4 separate regions of the Homo sapiens genome follow, and regions 1, 2 and 4 are each linked to region 3. The links are contacts of gene promoters, found by promoter capture Hi-C in human tissues and cell types (Jung and others, 2019). All regions are on one chromosome and are shown on one strand. Each heading gives the region's core, a stretch centred on a gene start or on the middle of the fragment in contact. The rest is flanking DNA. Distances are from core to core; before and after follow the strand shown. Region 1 overlaps TNS1 (tensin 1). Region 2 overlaps RUFY4 (RUN and FYVE domain containing 4). Region 3 holds the start of TNS1 (tensin 1). Region 4 overlaps TNS1 (tensin 1).

Evidence for each region. Contacts are between HindIII fragments. The study calls those that stand out against the background at their distance.
Region 1: a fragment that was not itself captured here is called in contact with the fragment with the promoter of TNS1 in region 3 in 2 of the 25 tissues and cell types used here (adrenal gland and pancreas).
Region 2: a fragment that was not itself captured here is called in contact with the fragment with the promoter of TNS1 in region 3 in 2 of the 25 tissues and cell types used here (bladder and spleen).
Region 4: a contact is called between a fragment that was not itself captured here and the fragment with the promoter of TNS1 in region 3, in 2 of the 25 tissues and cell types used here (IMR-90 fibroblasts and ovary).

What each region holds. Positions count from the first base shown.
Region 1 is chr2:217,910,198-217,912,903 of GRCh38, reverse strand. All of the region lies in intron 4 of TNS1 (tensin 1), which reads left to right. Among named protein-coding and RNA genes, the nearest start is that of MIR6809, 11 kb to the right of the region's middle. The HindIII fragment of the contact is 9,234 bases long and covers 1-2,706 here.
Region 2 is chr2:218,075,197-218,078,187 of GRCh38, reverse strand. RUFY4 (RUN and FYVE domain containing 4) reads right to left here. Exons shown (of 13, transcript NM_198483.4): 9 at 2,448-2,991; 10 at 1,655-1,761. Among named protein-coding and RNA genes, the nearest start is that of RUFY4, 7.4 kb to the right of the region's middle. RefSeq lists an enhancer at 1,659-2,160. The HindIII fragment of the contact is 3,853 bases long and covers 1-2,991 here.
Region 3 is chr2:218,001,557-218,004,297 of GRCh38, reverse strand. TNS1 (tensin 1) reads left to right here and starts at 1,303. Exons shown (of 33, transcript NM_001387777.1): 1 at 1,303-1,458. The coding sequence starts at 1,426. RefSeq lists enhancers at 18-117, 1,858-2,358, 2,359-2,741. The HindIII fragment of the contact is 30,357 bases long and covers 1-2,741 here.
Region 4 is chr2:217,933,866-217,936,631 of GRCh38, reverse strand. The region is part of intron 3 of TNS1 (tensin 1); the gene reads left to right. Among named protein-coding and RNA genes, the nearest start is that of MIR6809, 35 kb to the right of the region's middle. RefSeq lists enhancers at 1-184, 1,141-1,650, 1,651-2,159. The HindIII fragment of the contact is 4,943 bases long and covers 1-2,766 here.

The DNA.
Region 1 (2,706 bases), core at 83-2,582, 91 kb after region 3:
TGACAGTGAAGGGAGGTGATGCCTTGGGAGGCACGGGGCACGGAGAAAGCGCTCTCTCCCTTTGCTGCCTTCTGCCGCTGCCGCTGCCTTGTTTTCGTGATTAGGCTGTTGATAGAGGGCTCTCATAGGTCTGTATGTGGGGACGATTAAATGGGGCCGCACCTCTAACGTGCCATCTCACAGCCTGCCATGCTCCAAGTGCCCCATAAACTCTGTTTCCCTGCCCTTCCCTTCTGTTTTTAGCCCCCTCCTTGCATTTGCTTATGATTCTATTTTTGAAACAAGTGAGCCTAGAATAACTTTCTCTGGGTCCTGGGTCTGAGGCCATTCCAGCCCTCGCTAGCCCTCCCTGCCAGCTCCCAGTTCCTTCCCCTCTTGATAGGCAGTGCGATGGTGACCTCGCAGTTCATTGCCATGGCAGTAGATCTGGTCATGGGGTGGTCTTTTTGGCCCCCAAGCCCCCCAGATTCCAGGCCTCCCAGGGGGCAAGAGTCGGGAGAGTTGGAGGGTGGAAAGGGGCAGGGTGTAAGGAATTTCCGGACGGAATGTTCCTCCGGAGGCTGAGCCCGCATTCTGCGCACCCTCCTCCCCAATCCCCTTCCCCTCGGCCCTGGGCTCAGGCATGGGAACCTCCCCCACCCTGTTGTTTCCTTCCTCTAAAACAGCAGCACAGATACATTTTTCCCAGCCCACCCTCCTTGCAGGCCACTAACCTGTCCTCCTGCGTGAGCCTCTAGGCCGTCCTGGCAGCCACCCCCCAACCTTCCAGCAGAAAGGCCCCTCCTGGCCCCACCTTGGGCCCATGCAGTGGGGGAGGGTAAAGGCATGTGTGGAGAGGGCATATGTGTCTTTTTTTGGAAAAAAATTGAGGAAAGGATGTGGAGCTTCCCTTATCCACCCTGTGGTTCCCGACCCCTCGAATTCAGGAAGTTCTCTCTGTTGTCTGATCTCAGTCTTTCCTATGCAGCCCAGTTCCTATTCTTTCTGTGGAAGTATGGTTAAGAAGTGTCTTCCTACTGAGGACCTGGACAGAAGTCCTGCTATAACTGGCCTTCAATTTTCAGAAAGCTTGTTCCCCACAGGAAGGCAGTTATCAGAGGAACTGCCTGGAGATCATTGCCAGGGAGAGGGGAGATAGCATGATGGGGAGGTGAGGAGCAAGGTTCAAACAGCAGCTCTCCTACCGACTGGCTGTGGAACCTTGGGTGAGTCACTACATCTCCCAGGCCCTCAGTTTCCTAAACTGTACCCTGCGGTAATGCTCGCCTCCCAGGGTGGTTGTGAGGACTGGTGATCAGGAAAGCAAAGAGCCCAGTACTGTGTTCCGGGCATTGCCATCCCTAAATGAATAGTTGTAATTCTTGCAATAAGTTTATGAAAAGGCATCTCAGGGCCAGGGCCAGGATGAGGGCCAGAGAGTGAGGCCTCTAGGGTGCAAGATCTGAGGAGTCATCACTCTCAGGATTATGCAAGTGCACTCGCAGGACCTCAGAGTGAGAGCAATGCCTTCTTAAATGTTGTGCCCCAACATTCGCCCTAGTCCCCACCTTGCTTTGCTCTAACTGCTGGTTTTGGGACTCTAGAGCAGAGCAGCCCGCTAAGAGCAGGGCTTGGTTTTCAGGTAGTGATAGGTTCAAACCCTGCCACCTGCTTCTAAGCTGGATTCTGAGTTGTCCCTCCTGGGAGGTAAGGGGGGACTCTGGAAGACCCCTGGTGGAACAGTGAGTCAGCTGCTCTCACTTTGGAAAGCCTGGGGACCTTAAGCTCCAGGCTTTGTCCTGGGACTGGGCAGTGGGTGGAGACAGACATAGGGGTCTGTCTGTGTTTGGCCTCCACCCACTTCATCCCTTTGCAGCTGACTTGAGGAGGAAGGAAAAGAAGAGCCTGCAGGGAGGCACCAGCTCACCCTGCCAGCAGGATGGCTGGGGGCCAAGGGTGAGGGCAGTGAGATGAGCCTGGCAGTGGGCTTTACAAACCTGGGAACCAGCTCCAGCCATGCCACAAACCTCACCATGAAAGGCTGGGCAGATCAGACCTCCCTGGACCTCAATTTCCCCATGTGTGAAACAGGGGGATGGAGGAGATGATGTCTTAAGTCCCTCTCAGAGCAGATGTCCCCAGGAGTGGCATGCAAGGATGGTTGTGTGTGTGTGTGTGTGTGTGTGTGTGTGTGTGTGTGTGTGTGTGTGTATGTGTATGTGGTAGCTGTAGAAACATCCTGGCCAGGAATGGAGTGAAGATGAAGGTCAGGGGCTTTGGTTCCAGAGGGTCCCGGGAGTGCCAGCTGGACTCATTAGGCAGTGTCAATGGTAGGGCTTCCCACTGGCCCCGGCCTCCCTGCAGGGCCTGGGGCAGTGGCAGCCTCAGGGGATCCTGCCCTCCTGTTACCAGTCCCATGCCTTTTTCCTTCCCAGTAGCCCCAAGGCTGGAAGTGTTGGGAAACAGAGAGATAGGACTTGAATCCTGGGAGAGTTGGGTTGGAGGGCAGAGGAGGGTCGGGCAGCATGCATGCTGGCTGTGTTTGCAAACACTGCAGGACAACTGGGATGTTTAGATGGTGCAGGGGGTGGGGACTTGGAAATTTTTAGCTCCTCAGAAAGCATCTCAACCAGTAAGCTGAAGGCATCTGAACTCTGGCAAGCGTCACCCTGTGGCCGGCCTCCAGCTGGCATGGGGAAGGGGTGGGGGCAAAGGGGATGGTGCTCA
Region 2 (2,991 bases), core at 442-2,941, 74 kb before region 3:
GATATCCTAGGTACTTTACTTGCTAATCACTTTTATTGCCTCCTCCACTAGAATGCAAGCTCCATGAGGGCAGGCGTTTGGCCTGTTTTGTCTGTGAGAGGATTTCCCATACCTAGGACAGGCCTGGCTCAGAGTGGGTGCACAGGGTGTTTGTGGAATGACTGAATGATGAGTGACAGGTGGCCGGAGCACTGTGGTCTGTGAGACAGGGTCCCCAGTAAAAGGAGCAGCCAGGGCCAGGCCATCTCTCTATAACCTCCCAGCTGCTCCTCCCAGACTGTCTTGAACCCTTGAAGACTCTTGTGTGGCCAGAACCCCCATGTTCATTTTGCCCTGAATCGTGGAAACCTTTGCGACCACACTGTGTGCTCAGCTGAGTGTGGAGTGGGAGGAGCCTGGGGGTCCTTTTGGGTTGGTTTCTGGGCTCCTGGGCCTCTCTCACCTGCGAAGCAGACAGCCAGAAGGCTTCCTAGTGATTCAGGCTGAATCACAGCTACTCAGGCTCTGCTGGGGTCCGACTGGTGTCTGTTGGACCTGGGGCAGGTGTTAGCCATGTGGGAGAGAGAGACAGGGGCAGGTGGGCAGACTGACGTACCCGGAGACCACAGGAGAGAGACACAGAGAGGCTGAGTCAGGCCACGGAAGATCTCTGCAGTGAGAAGAGACTTTAAAAAATAAATTATGGGCTGGGTGTGGTGGCTCATGCCTGCAACCCTAGCACTTTGGAAGGCTGAAGCTTGAGCCTAGGAATTTGAGACCAGTCTGCACCATGTAGTGAGACCTCGTCTCTACAAAAAGAAAGAGAGAGAGAGAGAGAGAAACTGAGACCTGAGAGACTGAGGACTGAGGGGGGATGGTAGAGACAGACAGCGTGCTGTGGGCCCCTGAGGTCAATGTGATGACGGAAGATGAAGACACTGGATGGTGAGAGACACTGAGCAGGAGAAACGGAGAGACTGAAGTGCAGGCACTCGACATGCTGCCTGAATGGGGCGTCTGAGCCCACTGGTTCTGGAGTCAGCTGCAGGCCTTGAATCTCAGCTCCCCCGCTAACTAGCCAATGGTGGGTGAATTGTGCAGCATCTTTGAGCCTCAGCTTCCTCCTCTATAAAATGGGGGTTCTATAGAACTCATCTCATAAGGGTGTTACGCAGAAGCACCGACAGCAGTGCCTGGGACGTAGTAAATGCTTAGTAAATGATAGCTGTGATTATGAGAGGGTGAGAGGTGGCATAACAGGAAGAAGCAAATGAGACACAAAGAAACTGAGTAAAAAAGGGAGACAGAAAGAGATGGGGGAAAGAAGTCCAGTGGAGTAGGGAGGCAGAGAGGGTGAAAAAGAGAGAGGAGCTGCCCAGGGGAGGCAGCAGAGGGAGGCAGGGGTGAGGGTGGGAAGGAAGCAGGCCAGGAGGCGGGGCCTTTCCTGGGGCTGCTCCTGCTCTGGGAGACCTACGAGAAAGGGATGCACAGAGGAGGGAGGGTGGAGCCCTGGGATCAGGAGCAATGCCCTGCAGGCCTCAGATCCCAAAGGTGTGCCCAGTCCAGGGCCTGGTGCATGGGAGGTTCTCACAAGACCTCACTGGCTTGACCGTGATTGACAGCAGGACCTAGGGAGCACTTCCAGGTGCCCTGTGCTGTGGGTTGCCAAGGTTACCTGCTGAGCTGCTCCCGAAGTGCCTGCAGCTCCCCCTCCTGCTCCCTCAGCAGCTGCTCCTGGCGCTGGGCCTGCTCCTCAGCCTTCCGGAGCCCAAGTCTGAGGCTCTGTGGGGTGGAAGGAGGGGAGAAGGAGGCTGAAGGAGAAGGGCAGAGACCCCAGTGCTGGGGCTGACCTGAACAACATTCCCGAGAGACCCCAGGCCATGCCCTGGCAGGGCTGGGGACAGTGCTGGGAGCTGTGATGCCTGGCTCTGTCCTAGGCCCTGCTTCTGGGTGTGCCTGGGCCACGGTTTCTTCCTTCACTGAAGGGTGGAAGTTGTAAACTCAGAAACTTGCAAGTTCCTGGGTGGAGGCCGAAGGGAGGCTTGGTGACAATCTTGAGTGACCTCCAGGAGAAGCATCCACCACAGGAGCAACTAGGTGGGCTCTGCAACAGTAGAACTTAGATTTCGGGAAGAGACTTACCATCATGAGGATATGGAACTGGAGAGAGGAAGTGACTGCCTGGAAGAACTGCTGGGAAGGGATCTCAAACTCCAAAGCCTACTGGGGCTGGGCAAGAAGTATTGCCGAATAAAGTGGGTCTAGCGTGGGGCAATAGGGAGAGGCGGGGACTGTGGGGACCTGAAGAATGTATGGCTTTCAAAGGCATCCCCAAATAATAATCCTGAGTGGGCCAATAAAAATTGACCCGTGGGAGGGAATGGTCCCAGGCTACCATTGCAGACCCTCATCTGTGGGCCAGGTCAGACAGGGGCAAATAACCAGGTATGGAGCTCAACTGTTCTCACCTTGATCTCGTCCTGCAGGGACACCTCGGCTTGCTCCTCCCTTCTGGCCACAAGGGTCACTTCTGTTTGCACTTGTGGATTCTCCACGGTAGAGTCTTCCTTTGTTGCGTGTCCCTGAAGGACCCAGGGCTCCCCCAGGATGCTAGAGCCCCCCGACCCCTGCCTGCTCCCTGATACTGCTCCCTCTACAGCCCCTCTGGGGCTGGGCATCAGCAGCCTCTGGACGTGACTCCACTCTGCTTCCTTTTTGTGAGTCCCCTCTGTTGTTCTCTGACCCTCTGCAACCAGCAGAACCCCTGTGACCTCAGCCTCCATCCCTATCACCTCCTTCTGAGTGCCCATAGCCCCCTTCCCCTGTCCCTGGGTGCTGGGTGTTGAGTTCCCCAGGAAGATCTCAATCCATGGGGCTCTTTCCTCCTGGTCTAGCTGAAGCTCCTTCCCTTCTGGCTCCCACATGCTCTGGGGGTACCTATGTTTCCTGGAACTTTCCCCCTTCTTTTCCAAAAAGAAAGGAAGATGCCTTTGTTGCTGGGACCTGGGAAGC
Region 3 (2,741 bases), core at 54-2,553:
GGCAAGAGAACTTTTCTTGCTAAGTGACTCAGTCTAGGAACGAGGTCTCCAAGTGCCTACTCTGGGAGGGCTCTTATGTGTTGACGTGAGTTGGACTGTGTCCTTGTGTGTGTGTGTGTCCACAGGAGGGTGTGGGGCTGAGCCCTCCCTCCTTCTCCTGGACAGCTCCAAAGAACAGAGCGGGTGATTCACTGGCCCCCACCCACCCTCAGTTGGTCCAGCCAAGGCCAGAGCTCAAAGAGGAAGGGTTTTTTTTGGAGGGGAACGTGGTGGTTCCAGACAATGAAGGCCTGGGGCAGACTTTGCTGGATTCCCCCTTAGTGCTCCGTGGGAATACTTTTGGGTTTTGACCCAGCCTCCTTTCCACCCTCTAGACCCCCAACAATTGTCCCTGGGCAGAGGTGGGGGCGAGGGGAGGGGAGGGCTGGTGGGCAGGGGACACTGAGGGGAAGAAATAGGCCTGTGGAATGGTGGGAGGGGAGAACTGGGCCCAGGGAGGGGGAGAGGGGAGGAGGGGGAGGAAGTGGGGAAATGCAAACCAAATGTTGGCCCCGGGTACAGTCAAGAAAAACACACTCTCGCGGGAGCCTGGAGCGGGGCTCCCTTTCAGAAGGGCAGGAAAGGCTGGGACAGATGTTTGCAGGAAAGAAAGAAAGAAGGGGGAAAAAAAAAGAAATAGGAAAAAAATTGGAATGAAACCCACAGCCTGGGGGCAGGGCCATTCTTCCCCAGTCTCGGGCCCTATTTCTTCTGTGTTAAGGCCTGTCCTGGGCTCTGAGCTTGGCGCGTGGGCACCAGAGTCTGTCCCAGTCTGTGTGTGCAAATGCATGTGTGTTCCGAGGAGGCCAGGAAGGCAGGCACGGGTACTCAGAGAAGGGGAGGGGCCAAGGCACCCTGAGTGTGCTGATTGTGTGGGCCTGGGGCTGTCTGTTCATCCATCAGTGGTCTGGAGGGTTCCAGGAGTGAAGGCCCCCAGGCTGGTTTGCCAGGGGCGGGGGTCTGCAGTGAGGAGGGAGGACTCCAGGCCTACCAGCACCAGATCAGAAGACTGAGGAGCCTTGGTGGCACACAGGGGTTGTGTGTCCGGGGGTGGGGGGCACGGCCTGGGGGGGCCCTGCCTCTGGTAGCTTTCCCTTTTCCCTGTCCCCTTTACACCCCCTGCAAAGCAGGGTTCCTGACCCTCAAGGCCACCGGTGGAGCCTGGGAGGAGGGAGGAGAGAGGAGGCTGGGACGAGGGGTGGAGTGGGGGGAGGAGGAGGAGGAGGGAGGGTGAGCTGGAGGCAGCAGGGCGAGAGGCCCAGCAGATGCTGGCGGAGCCGGAGCAGCCGCGGACTCAGAGAGCCCTTCTGCCAGCGCCGCGGGGACTCTAGCTTCAGGGGCTCTTCACAGGCCCTGGGCGTGCCTCAGTGACGGGACCCAGCAAAGATGACGTGGATCTGTCTGTCCTGCATGCTCTGGGTAGGTCTGGCTGCTTTAGCTGCGACGTTACTCTTCCTCAAACCCCCCGCCCCCCACCGGCCCCTGCCACCTTATCCTTTTGCTGAGAGCCCGGGGTCGGGGGGTGTCAGTCTTGAAGGAGGGGCCTTTCTGTCTCTGACCTACAGAAGGACAGACTGACTTGAGCAACCCTCAGCCGGAAGACTTTCCCCACCAACAGGGCCCAGGCCCAGGGTCCCGGGTCAGTACATCCCCTGCCCCACCCCCCCACCCCCCAATGGAGTCCCAGAGCTGTAAGTGGAAGGAGGCCACAGAGAAGTTTGCTTCTCTTTAGAGCCTTTCCTCCCGACTTGCATCCTACAATGGGGTGAAAATTCTTCACCGCCCCCCCTCAGTTGCTGAGCCCAAGATCTTGAGGAGGAGGCAGTGGTGGGGCTGGGGAGCAAAGAATAGTAGTCCAAAATATTAAGTCTGGAAGAGCTGGGCTGTGGGAGAATTCTCAGAGTCCATCCCTTTTATTCCTTCTACACCCAGTTTCAGCTTCCACCCACTGCCATCCCTTCCTCCACAGCCCTCCCCTGCTACCAAGACCTCTCCATCCTGGAGGAGGGAGCCATGGCCCGCTCTTCCCCCTTTCTCTCTTGGCTCCAGGTTCAGGGAGGTGGGTTTCAGGATGGGGATGCCAGGGGGGCCAGCAGAGAGGCCTGGGGGCCACGTGGTGAAGGTTAAAAGTCTTAAGGCCAGACCTGGGCTGAGGCTCCTGGGTAAAGGGGGATGGGAGAGGGCTGCCTGCTGCAGAAGGGCTGGGGGTCAGAGGAGGAGAGGACCCCTTCCTCAGAGGGGCTCCTGTGGGGCTGTCTTGGCCAGGCAAAGGCATGCATGGGGTCAGGAGGGTGAGGAAGTCGTCCCTGGCTGAGGTTACTGTTGGGCTCTGAGAGAGTGATGGCTGGTTTGGGGGAGGGGGCTTCAGGGCTGTGATCCAGATGTGGCCTTTCCTGTCCCTTTCCTTGTTCTGGCCAGTCCTCGGGAGGGCCCTCTTGGCCCAGGCAAGCCCATGCTGGGGGCAGTTGTGGGAACACAAACTCGGGCAGCCAGGTGTCCTCTGGGCAAAGAAAGAAAGGGTGGGGGAGGGGGCCTGGAATGAGGCGGTTTGGGTGGCATGTTGGGCTGGGGTGCTGGGATGGATTGGATTAATAGATTGAGAGTGACTGGGGAGGCCTGCACACAGGATGCATTTGTGGTTTACTGGGCTGGTGTTGACATCTGGGAAATGGGAGCCTTGGCCAGGTTCGTCTCTGTGCTGA
Region 4 (2,766 bases), core at 220-2,719, 68 kb after region 3:
AGGGCATTTGGGCCACTGTGACGGCTGTACTGGGCAGGGGAGTCCTAGGGGCAGGCCTCAAGCCAGGGCCTGGGTTCCTGGAATCCTATGTTCAAATTCCTCAGCCCTGGGGCTGGAAAATCCTCTCCCAAGTCACTTCATCTCCCTGATCCCTCTGGGCTTCCTTCCAGCATACCATCCTCCCCTCCTGGATTGGGAGGCCAAGGAGGCCCCTGAAATCTCCTTCCTGGGAGATCTTTCAGGCCAGGAGAGAGCCATCCTTGGCAAGTCTTCACACGCAGCCCTGGGATGGATGAACTGCAGCAGGCAGGAGTGAGGGTAGACTGTAGGCAGCTTATATTTTTAAGGCACCGAGAGGATCCTTTGGGGGCCTCCTTTACCATCTGACCTGGAACACAGTAGCCCCTTACTGTTTGTTGAATGAATGAATGAATGAACGAACAGGAGTGTTCCCTGGTCAGGGTGGAGGAGCCTGATTGCTCGGAGGCAGCCATGCCCAGCCTGGCTCTACGTGGCCTGGTGAGTGCAGAGAGTGGCTGCCTGTCCAGAGCTAGATGGAATGTTGAGTGTCTCAAAGGCCAGGTGCCTGGCATGTCGCAGGTGGTCAGGGACTGTGTGTTGATGAAGAAGAGGGAATTTCAGCAGCGTTTATTTCCTAGAGCAATGACCTCTCATGAGGCAGTGTGATGTGGGGGTCACCTTCACAGTGTCTGCAGCCACACGGTCTGCATGTGAATCCTGACCCCATCTCTTGCAGGCTATATGACTATGAACAACTTACCTGACCTGCCAGTGCTTCCCTTTGCTCACCTGTAAAATGCAGGAAACAAATAGAGCGGGTCTGGCATGCAGGCTGTTCTGCATAAACCTTGGTGATTGTTATTGCTGTTTTTGTTATGGTTATTACTATTATTGATACAGTGGGAGAGAGTGGGGCTGGCAGCAGGGGTTTCTTGGCTGGGATGAGTGCAACTGCCCAGAGTGGGAGGGGAGAGCACAAGAGATAGATGAGGCTCCTCTGGAGGCTTAGAAGGAATTCGGTGGCTCACGAACTGCTTCCACCACCACACATGTGGCTGCCTCTGCTGTGGCCGGCTGAGCTAGGCCAAGCGTGGGAGTGGAGGCAGTGGTCAGGTCTGGATTCCAGGCTGGAGCCCTGGGAGAGCAGAGGCGAGCCAGGGTGAGGGGTGGGGGCTGGGGGAGGAGAGGTGATTGGAGAGGAGGCCATGACTCTCCCAAGTTCCCAGCTGGGACCCTAAGAATTCCTCCCATCATCTCCTGCCAGAGGGCCTGGCCCTTGAGCTCCAGAGCCTCCGGAGGGCCTGCAGTCCATCTCCCTGCCTCCTGGGCAGACTGTTCTGAGTAGGTGGCCTGGAGTCCAGTGCCCCTTCACTGTTGGAAAGTGATTCCTCCCCAGTAACCGCTGTCTGGCTGCAACTCCTTCCTCCCCCTCCTCACCCTGCCTTCAGATCTCCCGTCTTCAGCACTGCTTTGCAACAGGAGGGTGACAGAGTCAACTTCAGGGGCCTGCTCTGACTTGGGGCAGAGAGAGAGGTCTGTGTAGTGCCGCGGAAGGACCTGTGGCAGGGGCGTCAGGTGACCTGCTAGTCCCTTTTGGCACTGTGTGACTTCAGGCAAATTGCTTCCACTTTTTGGGCTTTGGTTTCCTCAATTGCGAAATGAGAAGTTCGAGTTAGGGGCGTTCTCTCTTTTCAGCAGTGCTGAAATTCTGTAAGTGCATGGATCTTTCTGAACAGAGAGGCTCCTAGTCTTGGGGCCTTTGGCAGAGCTGTCCAGCATCGAGGTGGGATCCTGTTGGCTCTTCAGGCATCTGCTGGGATGCCATCTGAAATGCTGGGGAGGTCCTTCCAGCACTGGAATTGGAACGTTCTTTGCCCAGTGACCACTCCTCCAGGCAGCTTGATTTCTTGGAACAGAGCAGAGGGCAACAGCTGTCAGGGTTGGGCTGGCCAGAATCTCCCGTCTCTGTCCCAGTGACTCAGGTGGGGATACGCTTGGCAGGATTGGAGCCAATGAAGCAAAGGAGGGGACTGGGGAAGATCTGCTGCCTGCCTTGGCCACCCAAAGGGAACAGAGTGGGAGGAAGTGATGTGCTGGGGATGGGGGTGCAGAGGCAAAGTGAGTAACAGTTGTGAGTAATGGCTCAGTGTCTCCACTGGGTAGGTGGCTCCTAGACTGCACAGAGCTGTCTGGGGCTCCGGAAATTCTCCCCGGAGGCCCAGCCACTGAATCACAGCAGCCTGAGCTCCTCCCTCCCTGTCCTCCTTAGGAGCTGGGGGTCCCGGCCAGCAGGGTGCCACACCTCATCCCCTCTGCCTCTCTGTGCTTCTCTGGATCAGCCCCTCCCATCACCTATGCCTTCACACCCCCTCAGCTCCATCGATGCTCTGTCTTGTCTTCCAAGCATCCAGGTGACTTGGCTTGCCTCAAGGAGTGTAGAATTTGCAGTCTGGCTGTCCTGGGTTTGAGTCCCAGCTCAACCACTCATCGCTGTGTGACCTTGGCCAACACATTTCTCCGCTGTAAGGTTCAGTAGCCTCATATGTGAAAAGAGGCTACTGCTTGTTGAATCTCTTGTTGGAAGGATTAAATGGGATAATCTGTATGAAGTACATGTTCTTTGTATGTGTTCAAATAATATGGTTGTCCCGAGCCCTAAACTCTGTTTTGCCCTTCCTCACCACCTCTGTCCCTAAAATTCCAGCTACCTGTGCTTCCACCCCATAATGTTCAGGCTGCGTATCC